Linked DNA regions of Homo sapiens: region 2 is linked to region 1. Evidence: promoter capture Hi-C in 16 types of primary human blood cells and fetal thymus (Javierre and others, 2016). All regions are on one chromosome and are shown on one strand. The core of a region is centred on a gene start or on the middle of the fragment in contact, and the rest is flanking DNA. Distances in the headings are between cores, read along the strand shown.

What was found. Contacts are between HindIII fragments. The CHiCAGO score rates a contact against its expected background, and 5 or more counts as called.
Region 2: a fragment that was not itself captured here is called in contact with the fragment with the promoter of SORT1 in region 1 in 4 of 17 cell types (M2 macrophages, M0 macrophages, M1 macrophages and 1 more); the score reaches 6.8 in M2 macrophages.

Annotation. Positions count from the first base shown.
Region 1 is chr1:109,395,454-109,399,644 of GRCh38, reverse strand. SORT1 (sortilin 1) reads left to right here and starts at 1,727. Exons shown (of 20, transcript NM_002959.7): 1 at 1,727-2,058. The coding sequence starts at 1,753. PSMA5 (proteasome 20S subunit alpha 5) reads left to right here. Exons shown (of 9, transcript NM_002790.4): 9 at 1-603. RefSeq lists an enhancer at 593-1,574 and silencers at 1,601-1,730, 1,771-1,840, 1,851-1,950. The HindIII fragment of the contact is 10,275 bases long and covers 700-4,191 here.
Region 2 is chr1:109,315,346-109,319,536 of GRCh38, reverse strand. SORT1 (sortilin 1) reads left to right here. Exons shown (of 20, transcript NM_002959.7): 16 at 1,568-1,684; 17 at 2,579-2,687. Among named protein-coding and RNA genes, the nearest start is that of MYBPHL, 10 kb to the right of the region's middle. The HindIII fragment of the contact is 1,422 bases long and covers 1,063-2,484 here.

The DNA of each region.
Region 1 (4,191 bases), core at 478-2,977:
TAAAAGCAACATACTAAAAAGTGAAGGTACAGATAATTGGAACAAATTTAATAGCGTTTAAAAGTGTATTTGGTAATTTCTCCAGGAGGTGGCACTGTTGAGTTGTTTTTTCTTTTCAGACAGTAAGACAATAGACCATTCATCTTTGTGTCACCCAAACAAAGAAATATTCCTTTATAACCCCCTTTCCTCCCCCCACCTAATCACATGCTACTGGAACTGACTGTCTTGTGATCTACTCCCATAGTTGGCATAGATTTAAAAATAATCTTTTTTAAATTAATCTGATAGTAGTTATGGAAAGGAACAAATTGTTCACCAATTTTCATCAGCTTTATCTTTTCAGTCCAGTAACTGAGAACTTAAAAAGACTATTCTAGTGATTTTACTATCCTGCTCAGATGGCATTCAAAAACATTTTTCACTTCTCACGTCTTGGAAAAATTTGTAAATTCGTTAAGTCTTTTTGTTTGAAAGTTAATGTGACTGGAAATATTTTAATGTAAATATCGGGTTGGGTGCATTGTATCATTTTGCTCTACAATGACTATATCCTCATTTGGGTTTATGGCCAGTTTATAATTAAAAGTAATCTTTACTTGCTTTGAGTGTAATGACTTGCATATTTTGTATCTTTCTATTTGCTACCTTTTCTACTGAACAATTTCTAGCTTTCTGAAGGGATGGAGTCAGTAAGCTTAAGGATTCAGAACTGGTTTTACCTGTGCTACGTGTTGTAGAAGTTGTGTGTGCAGCTTCTGCGGTAAAGGGAACAGCGTAGGGGTTTTATTTTATTCATTAGAGGTGGATCGGGGTGCTAATTTAGAGGACATCACATACTGGAACCAAACTTGTCCGAAGCTCTCACTGCAGAGTTAAGGCACTTTGGTAAAATAAATGTGCATCTAGGAAATGATCATGTGTACAGTAGGCATTGGATCATTCTCTTGCCCCTCTTTTACCTGCCCCTAATGCCTAAGCTACATTCGAAGTCCTGGAAAACCTGTAAGTAATTCCGCCTTTGGCCTACCTCCCCTCAGAAGAGGAAGGTGAGAGAGGCCAAACGTATGGAAAGACTATTCTTCAGGCTTGCAGGAGTCACGGATGTCCTGATGTCTGTCTCCGTAGGATGTGGCCCACATCAGTTCGCATTCACCTTCTTGCAGCAAGGCAGCTGCTTAGCAGACAATGGGCGCTCCAGTGAGCGGGGTTTATAAAAACCCGAAGCCCCGGTTCATGATGGAGCCCCCTTTTCCAGCTGAGCAAGCTCAGGGATTTCCTGGGTAGGTTTTTCCAGGCTCTGCCTCACCGAAGGAATTTTAGGAGTGTCTCTGGGGAACAGGAGGGACGTAACCCAGCCCCAACTTGAGGGCGCTAGAGGTGCGGCAAGGGGTCGCGACGCCAGGAGCCCGGGGCTCGGCGGGAAGGTATGAGAAGCTCCTACGTGAACTCCACAAGCCGGGCCCGGGAGACGCCGGGCGAGGCGGGGTTGACCTCAGCAGTCTCTGCCCCGTTCCAGCCAATCAGTCCCGCATCTTAGCATCCGAATCCAGGACCCCCGAAGCCGGAGGCGACGCGAGCCAATGAGGAGTGGGCCGGGGAAGAGGGACAGGCGGCCAGCCTATGGGGCGGAGAGGCCCGGCCGCGCGTATCCAAGGAGCGCCGCGCTCGGCTCGGGGGTGTGGCGCGCGCCGGCGGGGGTGGGCGGGCGCGCCGGGCGGCAGGTGTCGGCGTCGGCGGCATTCGGCGGCGATGGAGCGGCCCTGGGGAGCTGCGGACGGCCTCTCGCGCTGGCCCCATGGCCTCGGCCTCCTCCTCCTCCTGCAGCTGCTGCCGCCGTCGACCCTCAGCCAGGACCGGCTGGACGCGCCGCCGCCGCCCGCTGCGCCGCTGCCGCGCTGGTCTGGCCCCATCGGGGTGAGCTGGGGGCTGCGGGCGGCCGCAGCCGGGGGCGCGTTTCCCCGCGGCGGCCGTTGGCGTCGCAGCGCGCCGGGCGAGGACGAGGAGTGCGGCCGGGTCCGGGACTTCGTCGCCAAGCTGGCCAACAACACGCACCAGGTGAGCGGGCGCCGGGCCCGGGAGCCGCTCGGGTGCGAGGTGCCGCCCGCGTGCCCCTCCCGGCCCGTGCGCCCCGCGACTCCCGGAGGAGACCCCAGCCCTGCCGCGCCCGCGTCCCCCGGGCCGCAGCCCCGAAACTGCGGCGGGCGGGCGGGCGGAGTCGGGCCCGGGCGGCCGGCGGGGCTGTGTTTTGTCATAGGGGAGGCAATCTTAGACTTCCACCGCATTCTTTTTTTTTTTTTTAAGTTGTCAAAATCTCTTGAACATCGTTTTTCGTCTGTATAAATAATCAGGACCCAGTAACGCTGTTAGGCCCCAGGAAGGTGAAGGAGTAATTAACTCTTGAGCGCTTGCAGAAGTTGGGCTGCGCAGAAGCAAAGGTGTGTCCTCTCTGGGTCAGTACTTTCCGGGTGGGAGAGGCGGGAGTTCAGGAGGCCCGAAGCAGCGATCTGGTCACCGTGTTTTAATAGTTAAGGGGACTAGCTTGGAAATGAGATGGCAATATTTATGTGATCTCTTTTACTGCTTCAGATTTGACCTTCTGTCATGGTACGGAAGTCTGACTAGCATGTCTATATCCCGTGGTGACAAGATTTTCAATAGTTAAGAAACGCATTGCACATATTCTGCTTTGAGCCAGCTCTTGGTCAAAAGACTTTCAAAATTATGGGATTTCTGTCCCTGGGGACAAGCAGCTCAACCTTTGCACACTACTGGACTGACAAAACTAATTATTAAGAAAGTCCTGGTTCCTTGCTTCAGCACAACTTGGGCATCTTTCTCCTATTTCTCTAAAATTAACAATTTAATCCTTGCTAGCCACATTTGCATAATGTATTTTCAATTCTATATATTTTCTCCCTTGCCTGTTTTCCTCTTTCAAAGAAAATGAATTGCACTTGGGGGCAGAGATGGGTGGCCAAGGCTCTGTGCCAGCACTTGTCCTTCTGTAACCGTTTTTCAGCGTCAGCCAAGCCTCAGTCTCCCTTTGGACTGCCTGGTTATCTGGACCATACTTGTTACCTGTAATAGAATTCTCTGATCTGAGGACACAAGACACAAATATTCAGGAATAATTGTGCTTAGTGTATCCCGAGCAGCAGCTGTGTAAAGGTAGCCAAGCTAGTGCTGGAGGGTGAGACAGGTTGGGTAGAATGAGTACTGGGAAGTCTTCCTACTTGATGAGAAAAAAAAATCGAATAGACTTCCTTCTCACAGTGGGGGATTGAGAAAGGCTTTACAACACTAATGCTTAATTTATACTGGACCACTTCCTTCCTTGAGCTAGCTGGTCACAGCATTCTTGCTCCATATTTCAAATTCTTCTCTCGCTGGTTGACCTAACTTTAGGTCTGCTGCTACTCCTGGATTTAGATTTACTCCTGTTTTTCTTTTTCTCTTTTTTTGTGAGATAGAGTCTTACCTCAGCCTCCTGAGTAGCTGGGACTACAGGTGTGCACCACTATGCCTAGCTAATTTTTGTGTAATTACTATTTTTTTTTTGAGATAGGGTCTCACTCTGTTGCCCAGGCTGGAATGCAGTGGTGTGATCACAGCTCACTGCAGCCCTGACCTCCTGGGCTCAAGTGATCCTCTCACCTCAGCCTCCCAAGTAGCCGGGACTACTGGTACATGCACCCAGCTAATTGTTCTTTTCTTTCTTTCTTTCTTTTTTTAAGAAACAGGGTTTTGCCATGTTCCCCAGGCTGGTCTTGAACTCCTGGGCTCAAGTGCTCCACCCACCTTAGCCTGCCACAGTGCTGAGATTAGAGGCGTGAGCCACTATGCCCTGCCTGGATTTATTCCTTGAGTCAGAGTCTTCCTGGTTAGTTTGAATTGATGTGTCATTTGTAATATATTGATTCCAAAGAAAGAGGTTGAAAAAACTGGCTCAGGGGTTCTAAGGCCAAATCTGTGGAAGAGTAGACCTAAAACCACTCATTCTTTGAAGTCCACATGTAAAGAAATTTTCTTCTATTTCTTTCATTTAGCTGTTTGCAATAATTTTTTTTTAGTTTTTCTCTCCCAGTCTTTTTTTCAGTGACCTTATTTAAAATAGCTATTTTGGCTGGGCACGGTGGCTCATGCCTGTAATCTTATCAATGTGGGAGGCCAAGGCAGGTGGATCACTTG
Region 2 (4,191 bases), core at 524-3,023, 80 kb after region 1:
GGAAGAAAAAATAAATGAGTAAAATAGGACAAGTAAAAAAATATTCTTTTGAGAAATGTGGGTAGTAAGGGAGAGGTGGGTTAAGGAAGTAATTTCTAAGGTCAAGACATGCAGGCTAAGGAGACGCTGCCAGCTGAGTGGGAGAGATTGATTGTTCCCCTCATACTCAGGGAAGCAAGGCCCCAGGGCAGGTCGGAGGAGGGGAACCAAGGATGCTCATGGAGTCAGCCCTGGAGATTGTCAGCAGACATTGTTTCTTTGGGGTAAACAGGAAAAGGAGAGCAGTGGGTGGCACTATGGAGAGATGGGGTAGAATGGAGGACAGAAAAAGGTGTTCACATGGAAGGCAAAGACTATCTAAGAAGCTAAGAGGAACAGAAGTGGGGAAGACAGAAAAATTTGCCGTGTACTGCAAGGGCAACATAATAATGACATTTGGAGGTAAAGAAAAGAATTGCTGGCTGGGCACAGTGACTCATGCCTGTAATCCCAATACTTCGGGAGGCTGAGGCAGGTGGATCTCTTGAGCTCAGGAGTTTGAGATCAGGCTGGGCAATATGGCAAAACTCTTTCTACAGAAAATACAAAAATTAGCAAGGCACAGTGGTTCACGCCTGTAATGCCAGCACTTTGGGAGGCTGAGGTGGACAGATCACTTGAGCCCAGTAGTTCAAAACAAGCCTGAGCAATTTGTCAAGACCTCATCTTTACAAAGAATTAGACGAGCATGGTGGTGCATGCATGTGGTTCCAGCTCCTTGGGAGGCTGAAGCGGAAAGATCACTTGAGCCCAGATGGTTGAAGCTACAGTGTTCATGCCGCTGTACTCCAGCCTGGGCAACAGAGCGAGACCCTGTCTCAAAAAAAAAGCGGGGAGGGGGAAGAAAAGAAAAGAATTGCCAAGTATCCCTGAGTTGAGAGCTGCTGCTGATGCTGAGGTTTCTGTGTGAGTCTCCACCCCTCTGCAGGCTGCATCAGTCACCTCCCTGCGCCTGAGCTGCCTGCAGTGCACAGCCTTGGGGCCCTAGCTAGTCCTACCCCCACCAGGCCTGACCCATAAGCTTCTTTTCCTTAATAAGGCCCTCTCTGGCGGGGCACGGTGGCTCACACCTGTAATCCCAGCACTTTTGGAGGCCGAGGTGGGCGTATCACAAGGTCAGGAGTTTGAGACCAGCCTGACCAACATGGTGAAACGCTCTCTCTACTAAAAATAAAAAATTAGCCAGGCATGGTGGCATGCACCTGTAATCCCAGCTACTCAGAAGGCTGAGGCAGGAGAGTCGCTTGAAGCCGGAGGCGGAGGTTGCAGTGAGCCAAGAACACGCCACTGCACTCCAGCCTAGGCGAGAGAGTGGGACTCCATCTCAAAAAAAAAAAAAAAAGGCCCTCTCCGTGTCTGTTTTCCTAAATCGACCTCCTTCAGAGGTGTCACAGGACTTCCTGAGCTACTTTCTAACAACCCAAGACTGGAATGTTAACCATCCACTACCCCACATAACCCTTCATTGCTAGTCACTTAACGGTCTTCCAGCTGCTTTGAAAGGTACTTTATTTGCTGACTCTTGCAGTGATTTTGGCTACTACCGTCCAGAAAATGACTCCAAGTGTGTGGAACAGCCAGAACTGAAGGGCCACGACCTGGAGTTTTGTCTGTACGGAAGAGAAGAACACCTAACAACAAATGGGTGAGGTGGCCTTTTCTCCCTTGTCACGATGGATGAGGTGTTCTTGTTCAGAGTGAAAGCTGCTTCTCTCCACACTGAGATCCAAGCCCTACTTTAGAGCACTATTTTTGGCGGGGTTGGGGAGGGGCAGGATATGAAGGCCTCCTTCAAGGGTCAACTACAGGAGGTGAGCCATGAGTGCTTGGTGTCAGAGGACTCAACCCCACCAACACCACGAGGCAGAGCAGGAGAACAAGCTCGGCCAGATCCTGCACCCCTGCCTCCCGCCCAACCACCCCCAGGAAGGGAGGAGAGGCGAGGGACCCACAGGCAGAATGACAGAAGCGTCCCATCCGCCATGAACGTCCATCGCTCGTCTGGCACAGTTTAGGCACAGCCAGGGAGAGCTCTGTCTGATAGGACTTTCTTTGGTGATGGAAGTGTTCTGTAATTTGCTGTGCCCAATATGATAGTCACTAGCCACACATAGCTGTGGACACTAGTGTAACCGAGGAACTGAAATTTTCGTTTTAATCAATTTTAAGTAGCCACCATATTGGACAGTGCTGCTCTAGACGGGCCTCATTACCTCGCTCCCCTGATAACTTCCCCTCTCCCATTTTGTACCACTTGTTAATGAGCTTTTTTGGGGTCAGATTTCTTTGGCACAGTCTCTTAGGTAGAAAGAACAGGCATGTTTCTGACAGCAGGGGACAGAGATGCTTAGTTTGCTTAAGGCCTGAAACTACACAAAATATCCCCCAAAACATCCCTGTGGACATTCCCCCCAGGCCTGAAACATGACGTAAGGATGGGAAGCTTTTCGGCAGCTTTTCAAATCTTGTTTCCAAGAAATAGGCAGGTACCCAGGAATACATCCTTATCTTCTGTTACCAAATCTTCTTTGCCTGGTAGGTACCGGAAAATTCCAGGGGACAAATGCCAGGGTGGGGTAAATCCAGTTCGAGAAGTAAAAGACTTGAAAAAGAAATGCACAAGCAACTTTTTGAGTCCGGAAAAACAGGTATGTTAAAATAGGTCTAGTTTTCAGGTACAAATGGGATTTTGTGTTCTGCTAAGAAAAATCAAAGTTAAAGCATCAAGAGTTTTGTTACTGATAAAAAGTGGTCAAACTACTTCTCTCAGGCTTCCCTTATACAGGAAGCTGTTAGCATGAAGGATGGGTCATGTAACCCAGTGATAAGCTCACCCTACTGAAAGCTCTTTTCTTATTGAGGGTTGGGGGATGATATTCTGTAAAGTTGTAAAATTCTTAAAATCATACAGTTGTGGAAATTTCTGAGGCTGAGAGTCATTTAGGAAAACAAAAAGGTTGTCTGTGGGCTGGGTACAGTGGCTCACACCTGTAATCCCAGCACTTTGGAAGTCCAAGGCAGGCAGATCACTGAGGTCAGGAGTTCAAGACCAGGCTGTCCAACATGGTGAAACCCTGTCTCTGCTAAAAATACAAAAATTAAAATTACAAAAATTAGCTGGGTGTGGTGGTTTACGCCTGTAGTCCCAGTTACTCGGGAGGCTGAGGTAGGAGAATCATGTGAACCTGGGAGGTGGAGGTTGCAGTGAGCCGAGATCGTGCTGCTACACTCCAACCTGGGCAACAGAGCAAGACTCCGTACCAAAAAAAAAAGGTTGTCTGTGAAGGGCCATGACCTGGAATTGTGCATGTGTGGAAGAGAAGAGCACTGGGCAATAGGTAGGGTGGATCTCTGACCAAGTCATGTTAAGTATGTTCAAAGTGAAAAATTGAGCTATGGTAATGGGCTGGTTTTGATTTAAATGAAGCAAGTTACCTGTCGGGCATGGTGGCTTACTCCTGTATAGTCCCAGCACTTTGGGAGGCTGAGGTGGGGAGATCAGTTGAGGCTATGAATTGGAGAGCAGCCTGGGCAACATGGAGAAACTCCATCTTTACAAAAAAAATACAAAAATTAGCCGGATGTGGTGGTGTGTGCCTGTAGTCCCAGCTACTCAGGAGGCTGAAGGGAGAGAATCACCTGAGCCTGGGAGGTCAAGGCTGCAGTGAGCCATGATCATATCACTGCACTCCAGCCTGGGTGACAGAGTGAGATCCTGTCTCAATTTAAAAAAAAAAAAAAAAAAAAAAGGTTATGAGGCTGCATCCAAATCTGTAGCACTGAACTACCTGTGGAACTGGAGATGTGTAAAGAGGAAACCTCTTGATAATGAAACACTAGACCAGCAGCATGACTTCAGATGCTCAACAGCAGGCCCGTTTCCCAATTCGTAATAGGAGAGGTCAAGCTGGATCACCTGCAGTCCCTCCTCTCTGCTGTTCTAAGGGATGAGGGACTGACAAGGGGTGGGATTAAGGAGATGATGGGAGAGGAGTGTGTGAGTGTGTGTATTGGTAAGGGGGCGAGTTCCTCCTTCTGTGCACCCTTGTCCTGGGCTCCTGGTGACTCTCCTCAGAGTGTTCGTGTGTGTGATTGCACAGGACTCCCACCCACAGGGACACAGCTTGTCCTAGAATCCAGCTCTGCCTCCTC